Regions from separate parts of the Homo sapiens genome. Here region 1 is linked to region 2. Evidence: promoter capture Hi-C in human tissues and cell types (Jung and others, 2019). All regions are on one chromosome and are shown on one strand. The core of a region is centred on a gene start or on the middle of the fragment in contact, and the rest is flanking DNA. Distances in the headings are between cores, read along the strand shown. Region 1 overlaps EXOC4 (exocyst complex component 4). Region 2 holds the start of LRGUK (leucine rich repeats and guanylate kinase domain containing).

Region 1 (6,203 bases), core at 1,441-3,940, 290 kb after region 2:
CTCCTTTTTAGTCAGAAATGGGCCAGTGAAGGGGATTCTAAGCTTGGTTACAAACACCTGAGTTGAGTTTGAGGCATATGATACTTTGATGTTGTTCTACCTATAGAAGCATGGTAGGGAGGTATGGCCAATGAGAAGAACAATGAGCAGTAGGTACTCCATTTGTCAAGCTGGTAAGAATAGAATGTGTGGCTTGTAATCCCAGAGCTTTGTGAGGCCGAGGCAGGCAGATCACAAGATCAAGAGATCGAGACCATCCTGGCCAACACGGTGAAACCACGTCTCTACTAAACATACAAAAATTAGCTGGGTGTGGTGGTGCATGCCTGTAGTCCCAGCTACTTGGGAGGCTGAGGCAGGAGAATCCCTTGAACCTGGGAAGCAGAGGTTTCTGTGAGCCAAGATCGCGCCACTGTACTCCAGTCTGGCGACAGAGCAAGACTCCATCTCAAAAAAAAAAAAAAAAAAAAAAAAAAAAAAGGAATATGTGGGAATCCAAGAAATTAAATTGGTTGGGTAAAAATGTAAAAGAGATTAGAAATAGTTTGAGGTAGTCATTGGATTTCAACACAGGCAATTGACAGAAATTGACAGAGCTGAATTCTACCAGATGTATAAAGAAGAGCCGGTACCACTCTATTCCAAAAAATTGAGAAGGAGGGACTCCTCCCTAACTCATTCTGTGAGGCCAGAATCATTCTGATACCAAAACCTGGCAGAGACACAACAACAAAAAAACTTAAGGCCAATATCCTTAATAAAATATAGATGCCAAGGTCCTCAACAAAATACTAGCAAACTGAATCCAGCAGCACATCAAAAAGCTACTCCACCATGATCAAGCAGGCTTTATCCCTGGGATGCAAGATTGGTTCAACATACACAAATAAATAAATGTGAGTTCATCACATAAACAGAACTAAAAACAAAAACCACATGATTAGCTCAATGGATGCAGAAAAGGCTGTCCATAAAATTCAACATCTCTTCAGGTTAAAAACCCTCAAGAAAGTAGGCACTGAAGGAACATAACTCAAAATAATATGAACCATCTATGACAAACCCACAGCCAACATCATACTGAATGAGCAAAGCTGGAAGCCTTCCCCTTGAAAACTGGAGCAAGAAAAGAACGCCTTCTCTCACCACTCCAATTCAACATATTACTGGAAGTCCTGGACACAGCAATCAGACAAAAAAAAAGAAAAGGCATCCAAATAGGAAGAGAGGAAGTCAAACTATTCCTGTTTTCAGATGTTATGATTCTATTCCTAGAAAATTCCAGTCTCTGCCCAAAAGCTCCTTGATCTGATAAGCAACTTTGGCAAAGTTTCAGGATACAAAATCAATGTACAAAAATCAGTAGTATTCCTATACACCAACAACATCCAAGGTGACAGCCAAATCAAGAATGCAATTCCATTCACAATAGCCACAAAAAGAATACAATACTAGGAATACAGCTAACCAGGGAGGTAAAGGATCTCTACGATGAAAGTCACAAAACACTGCACAAAGAAATCAGAGATGACATAACAAATAGAAAAACATTCCATGCTCATGGATAGGAAAAAACAATATTGTTGAAAGGGCCATACTGCCCAAAGCAATTTACAGATTCAGTGCTATTCCTATCAAACTACCAATGACGTTTTCCACAGAATTAGAAAAAAAAACTATTTAAAAATTCATATGAAACCAAAAAAGAGCCCAAATAGTCAAGGCAATCCTAAGCAAAAAGAACGAAGCTGGAGGCATCACAATACCCAACTTCAAACTATACTACAAGACTATGGTAACCAAAACAGCATGGTACTGGTACCAAAACAGACACACAGATCAATGGAACAGAATAGAGAGCCCTATTAGAGAGCAGAAATAATGCTGCACATCTACAACCATCTGACTGACAAAATCCACAAAAATGAGCAATGAAGAAATTTGTTCATTTATTGAATGGACTCCCTATTCGATAAATGGTGCTGGGATAACTGGCTAGCCATGTGCATTAGATTGAAACTGGACCCCTTCGTTATTTATACCATACACAAAAATCAACTCAAGATGGATTAAAGACTTAAATATAAAACCTAAAACTATAAAAACCCTGGAAAATAACCTAGGAAATACCATTCTGGACATAGGACCTGGAAAAGATTTCATAACGAAGCAATTGCAATGAAAACAAAAATCAATAAATGGAACCTAATTAAACTAAAGAGCTTCTGCATAGCAAAAGAAACTATCAACAGAGTAAACAGACAACCTACATTATGGGAAAAATATTTTCAAACTATGCATTCAACAAAGGTCTAATATCTAGCATCTATTAGGAACTGAAACAAATTTACAAGCAATAATCAACCCCATTAAGAAGTGGGCAAAGGACATGAACAGATACTTTTTGAAAGTACACATACATGTGGCCAAGAAGCATATGAAAAAATGCTAAGCACAACTGATCATTAAAGAAAAGCAAATCAAAATCACAGTGAGATACTATTTCACATCAGTCAGAATGGCTACTACTAAAAAGTCAATAACAGATGCTGGTGAGGTTGTGGAGAAAAGGGAAAACTTACACACTGCTGATGAAAATGTAAAATAGTTCTTCCATTATGGAAAACAGTTTGAGGATTTCTCAAAGAACTTAAAACAGAATTACCATTTGACCCAGCAGTCCCGTTACTGAGTATATACCCAAAGGAATATAAATCATTCTAACATAAAGACACATGCAAACATATGTGCATTGCAGCACTGTTCACAATAGCAAAGACATGGAATCAACCTAAATGTCCATCAATGGTAAACTGGATAAAGAAAATGTGGTACATATACACCGTGGAATACTAAAAAAGAATGAACTCACGTTCTTTGCAGCAACATGGATGGAGCCAGAGGCCATCATCCTAAGCAACCTCATTCAGAAACAGAAAATCAAAACTGCATGTTCTCACTTATAAGTGAGAGCTAAACATGGAGCACATATGAACACAAAGAAGGGAAAAACAGACACCGGGACCTACTTGAGGGTGGTGGGTGGGAAGAGGGTGAGGACTGAGAAACTACCTATTGGGTACTATGCTTATTATGTGGGTGATGAAATAATCTGTATATCAAACCCCTGCAACATGCAATTTACCTATATAACAAACCTGCACATGTACCCCTGAACCTAAAATAACAGTTTAAAAAGAACTTTCTGGAAATAAATACATAAAGATGGGGAACTGAGTAGTTTTCTTGGCAGGACTGTGGTGGAAATGGTACTGATTTGTACCTATCTGAGGAAGGAGGCAGGAAAAATAACCTCTTTGTAGAATAAGAATGGACCTAAAAGGAAAAAAAAGCTGCAGCAGAAAAAGCCTTGCCCATTGTGGATACTATATTCTCCATCTCAGCACATGCCATCTTCCTAGTCAACAAATTAAAAAACCTGGGAACCATGGTAGACTCTGGCTTCCCAGCTCCTATCAGTGGCCAGGTGATTCTAATGCTTACCACCCTTCACATCTTCAGTGTACTGAATGTTTATGAACCACTTCCCAAATTCATATGTTGAAATCCTAACCCCCAAGGTGACAGTATGAGGAGGTGGGGACTTTGGGAGGTGATTAGGTTATAAAAGCAGAGCCCTTGTGAATGGGATTAGTGCCCTCATGAAATGGGATTAGTGCCCTCAGAGAGATCCCTCACCCCTTCCGCCCTGTGAGGTTCCAGAGAAAAGGCAGCCAACTATGAATGAGAATATAGGCCCTCATCAGACACCAAATCTGCCAGCACTTTGATCTTGGACTTCCCCACCTCCAGAACAGTGAGAATTAAGTTTCTGTTGTTTATGAGCTACCCATTTTGTGGTATTTTGTTACGGCAGCCCGAATGGCCTATGACAATACCCATTCTTCCATTTCCTACTGCCTTATTCAGGCCCTCACTGTCTTTTAAAAAATCTCTTTTATTGTGAAATACAACATAACACATTTAAGACAAAGTTTATAGTAATAATGCACATCTTAATAATCATAAAGGTAACACCCAATGGAACCACAAACTTGGTAAGGAAATGAAAGTTTCCAGCCAGGCGTAGTGGCTCACGCCTGTAATCCCAGCACTTTGGGAGGCTGAGGCAGGTGGATCGCGAGGCCAGGAGATGGAGACCATCCTGTCCAACATGGTGAAACTCCGTCTCTACTAAAAATACAAAAAATAGCCAGGTGTGGTGGAGCGTGCCTGTAGTCCCAGCTACTCAAGAGGCTGAGGCAGGAGAATCGTGCAGTGAGCTGAGATTGCGCCACTGCACTCCAGCCTGGGGGACAGAGCGAGACTCCATCTCAAAATAAATAAATAAATAAATAAATAAAATACAATAAAAAATAATAAATAAAACTTTCCATTATCCCAAGTGCTCTCCTGCCCAATCAAAATCTTCTCCCTTCCTATCTGAGGTAACCTTTGTAATAGATTTTTGTTGTTGTTGCTATCCTTTATGATTTTACCACTTAGATATGCATCCCTATACTATATAGCTTAATTTTGCCTGTTACGAATAGAATCAAATTTTACATATTCTTTTGTGTCTTGCTTCTTTCAACACTGTTAGATTCATGCAAGCTATGTATAACATGCAGTACATCCATTCACTCTCACTGCTGTATCAGATTCGATTATAGGTATATATGAAAATGTATCTATTCCCCTCAATAAGGTATGCCACTATATCTTTGTTAATACTTTTTCCTTTATTTGGAATCTATCTACCTTTCTAGATTCAGCTTAAGCATCATCTTCTTTATGGAATCTTTTTAAAATGACCTTCAAGGTAGAACTGACCACTGTCTCCTGAACTCCCAATGTGTCATATACATGTGTAGATCATGGCAGATATAACATTGATTTATTAGTATATCTGCCCTTCTCTAATAAACTTGAGGGCAGGACTCAGGTCTCCTTCACCTCTGTTGCCCCAGTGTCTGAGACTGTGCTATGGATTGAATATATACACATGATACATGTTGGCTAAATAAGTGCATGAACTGTTAGAAACTTTCAAGTGTAATACTTAGAACTTCAAAGAAAGGAAATACATGTGATCTGCAGTAATGAACAAATTAAAAAGATGAAACTAACATAGTGGTCTGAGGTTCTGGATTTTAATATTCCTATAAAGCACCTGTCACTACAGGATTCCGGTCTTGGTACAAGTCCTCCATGGCTGATACCTTAAAGCTCAAAAGAATTCTTACTTGAGTATCAACTTTGGTCTTCATTCTTTATTGACTACCAACTCCTATGACCATTTCCCTATTACTGGTAGGCAAATAGGCAAATGCTAAACAACTTTGTTGAGGAAAATACAGTGAAAATGAATTTATTAAGAGCATACATTTTTCACCAGAGCACAATCTTCAAAGCAATATGCTACACTGTCATTATCTCATTACAGTAATTTCAAGACTTGCTCCTGTTAACTTATTAAAAAACATTTAAAATCATTTTCTTCATTGCAGGCACAACAAACTATCTCATTATCCAAATAGGATCAGAGCCAAATGATATGGCAAGGGATGGGATAAAAGAAATGCACATATGCAGGAAAAAGTCAGAGTTCGGGGAAAGGCAGGCACACAGCAATATACAAGTATAAACGACTGTTTGCCAAAGAAGTGATTTTTCAAAACGCTGGCACTATTATGCCACAATAGAGCTAAGCCATTATGCCTCTCACCTTATTCTAAGTTCTCTAGAGGAAAAAAGGTATCTTGTTAATTGACTTAAAATTTTTCTTGCATAATACCTAGGTATACCATGAATGAAACTCTACTCATTGTATGTATGCCTAACACCATTATAAAACAATCCCATGTAGACATATGGATGACAACCTTTACATTAAAAATAACAACAAATCACTTCAAATACATTGCCTAAGCAGGGGTTGGCAAACTACAGCCTGCAAGCCAAATCCAGCTGCCACATTGTTTTGTAAATAAAATTGTACTGAAATGCAGCCATGCTCATTCATTTACATATTATCTATGATTGCTCTTATACTACGATGGCACAATCAAACAGAGACGATATAAACCACAAGGCTGAAAATATTAACTTTCTGGCTCTATTCAGAAAAACTTTGCTGACTCCTGGTCTACAGCCTTGCTACTGTAAAGTAGTACCATGGACTTGCAGCATAGCTATTACCT
Region 2 (2,569 bases), core at 1-2,500:
GACAAAGCCAGACTCCATCTCAAAAACATAAACAAAATAGAAAGGAAGCAAATTAAATTACGCTTTTGAAAGAAAGCAATTTATTAGAAGCCAAGAGAAAAGAAGTGATGTGATGAGAAGTGGAAAAGGACAAGAAGACAACAATGGACTAAGAAAGGAAAAGGACCATAATAAGCATAAGAAAGAAGAGGAATTGTGTGGTGGTCAGAAGAGATATTGTAGAAAGGAGGGAATGGCAGTCATGTGAAACGCGAAGCCGCCATCCCAGTCAATATGGGTGGGATGATGGGAACATTCCCCACATCCTAAAATATTCCCACAATGAGCTGGCTGTTCGAACATTATAAGGCTCTTTTCTGGTGTGTGTGCATGTTGCTTGTATAAGGCATATGCCCCCGACAGAAGTAATGTATTCAACTTTTAAGTCACTTAGTCTTTGAAGAAGCACTTTCAAAAGCGGATTTTTTTTTTTTTTTTTTTCCTGGAGGGAGGCTGACGGGACTAGAACTGAGGAAGAGTGTGGAAGTATGTCATAGCCATGGGCAACAGGTGCTGGCAATGTCAGAGATGAACTCTGCCTATTCACAATACTGTCAAAGTATAATTTTGAAAAAGCTAAAGCCATAATTCCCAGACAATTATCTAGACACTCTTACAAAGTGACGCTGTGTTAACTCGACTCATAAGAAATCAAATGTGTTAATGAAAAAAGAAAGGAACTATTTAGAGCTATTTCAGGCAGGGGGTGAGAAAACGGGGTAAAAGACAGGGGAAGAAAAGAGGGGGAAGAGGCGTTCCTGGAGGCGAGAGAGCCTGAGAAGGTGTGGGAAGCTTCGGGCTGGTGGGGGTGCATCGGGGAGCTGCCGCTGAAGTAACAGGGCTGGACGAGGGAGCCAGGGAGTACGGGGTGGGGGGGAAGACACACCTCCAAATTCAGCATTTCGGACTCTGAGGACTCCTCGGATCCCGCCTCGCCCTCGCCCTGGTCCTCATCTCCGTCCGAGTCCAGCTCCTGATAGCGGTGCATGAGCTGCTGGAGCAGGTAGGAGGAGGCTATGTTAGAGCTGCCTTTCGTCTTCTGCCCCATGGGAAAAGACCAGCAAGGCTGACGCTCTTTTTCTGCGCGAAACTGTAACGATCGGGCTCCAGTTCGGGATCTGCCCAAGCCTCTCAGGAGAGAGGCAGCTCTGGTCCTCAGGAGAGCCCTCTCGGAGGTCGCCATCTTGTTTAGCGGGGTTGCCTAGGAGACTGACCCCAGGCAAGGGGAACCGCGGAGGATTCTGGGGCCTGTAGTCTCCTCCGCGCGTACTCGCCTTCTGCAGGCGGGGCAGTGGGCGCTCCACTTGACTTTTCTTTTTCTCAGTCTCTTCTGTTATTTTTCTCTCTTTGGTCTGTTCTGTTCGCTTATCTTTCCTGTTTTCACCTCTTTTCGCTACACCCCCTTTCTTTGTCTCCAGCTGTTTCCTCCCTACCCTGAGACCCCTCTTAGAGCTTTGTCATCCCACGATAGGATCGCAGGTGCGCCACCGTTGCCGCTTCATTCCCAAAGGGCTCTTTCCGCAGAGTCGTACTTTAGAAGTGTCTAATGTCTCTAAAGCAGTCTGTAGGAAAGCTAGTACCACTGAAATTTATGCAAAGCGCGACGCTAGGAGATGAGGGTGCATATAAGTGAAATAGAAGGCATGGTTCCTGTCCTTATGATTTAATTGCAGATAATAAAGAGAAACTACCAGACGACGCCTGAGAGCTGATTTCCAATTAATTTACATTCCCCACCCCCACCCCCCAATGATAAGCCTTGTCCTTGGGGAGAAAAACTGGCAGTGGTCTTACAATCCAAACAGAGAGAGAAAAAACTGCTGTCAAATTGACACTGTATCTGAAAGCGTCTGAAAAGCTATTAGCATCCCATAAATAATTATATTAGTCAAGTGACCTGCATTGGCAATTATTTTAATCTTGTTGCACAGGCTCTCTTTGCAGTTAAAAAAAATACTCTTTCAAGATAACAAAGCACGATTTTATGCTAGTGTGATTTTATGTGACCCAAATCCCATAGCCTTAAGCTCCACAACGTCGACACTCTATAGAAAAGCAGAATGAAAATTATAGTAACTATTATTGCCATAGTGATGACAATAGAGATCCTTGCAGGGAAGTAGCCCTCATCCTTCTGGCCTTACAGGGCCTTTTCTGCACGCTTCAATGACAGCAGTTGCAAATACAAAATGATCCTGTCAATGGCTGTCAGGGGAGAAGGAGAAAAAATCCTTATGGACACCATCCATTGACGATTATCTTTCTCAGTGCTTGAGGGACCGTTAAAACTGACATAAAGCTTTCAGAATTACCTTCCTTCATTATCTTGCTAGTCATAAATGTAAAGGCCACAAGCAAAATATCTCTTTCTGCCAGGCTCATCTTGCTTTTTGCTTATTTCTTTTTCCAATAAGTAGAGATTCCTCCAAGGGAATTTTCCCCACCCTTACCCTCGTAGGGCCTGGCTTCGGCTAAGTGACATAGGGAAGAATCAGGCAGAAAGTGTAAAAATGCAAATCTCGATCGTTTT

What was found. The method cuts DNA at HindIII sites, captures the fragments that hold promoters and counts their contacts. A contact is called where the count stands out against the background at its distance.
Region 1: a contact is called between a fragment that was not itself captured here and the fragment with the promoter of LRGUK in region 2, in 1 of the 25 tissues and cell types used here (dorsolateral prefrontal cortex).

What each region holds. Positions count from the first base shown.
Region 1 is chr7:133,838,656-133,844,858 of GRCh38, reverse strand. The region is part of intron 11 of EXOC4 (exocyst complex component 4); the gene reads right to left. Among named protein-coding and RNA genes, the nearest start is that of LRGUK, 290 kb to the left of the region's middle. The HindIII fragment of the contact is 6,032 bases long and covers 1-5,706 here.
Region 2 is chr7:134,126,021-134,128,589 of GRCh38, reverse strand. LRGUK (leucine rich repeats and guanylate kinase domain containing) reads right to left here and starts at 1,250. Exons shown (of 20, transcript NM_144648.3): 1 at 926-1,250. The coding sequence starts at 1,222. RefSeq lists enhancers at 968-1,237, 1,348-1,397. The HindIII fragment of the contact is 8,230 bases long and covers 1-2,569 here.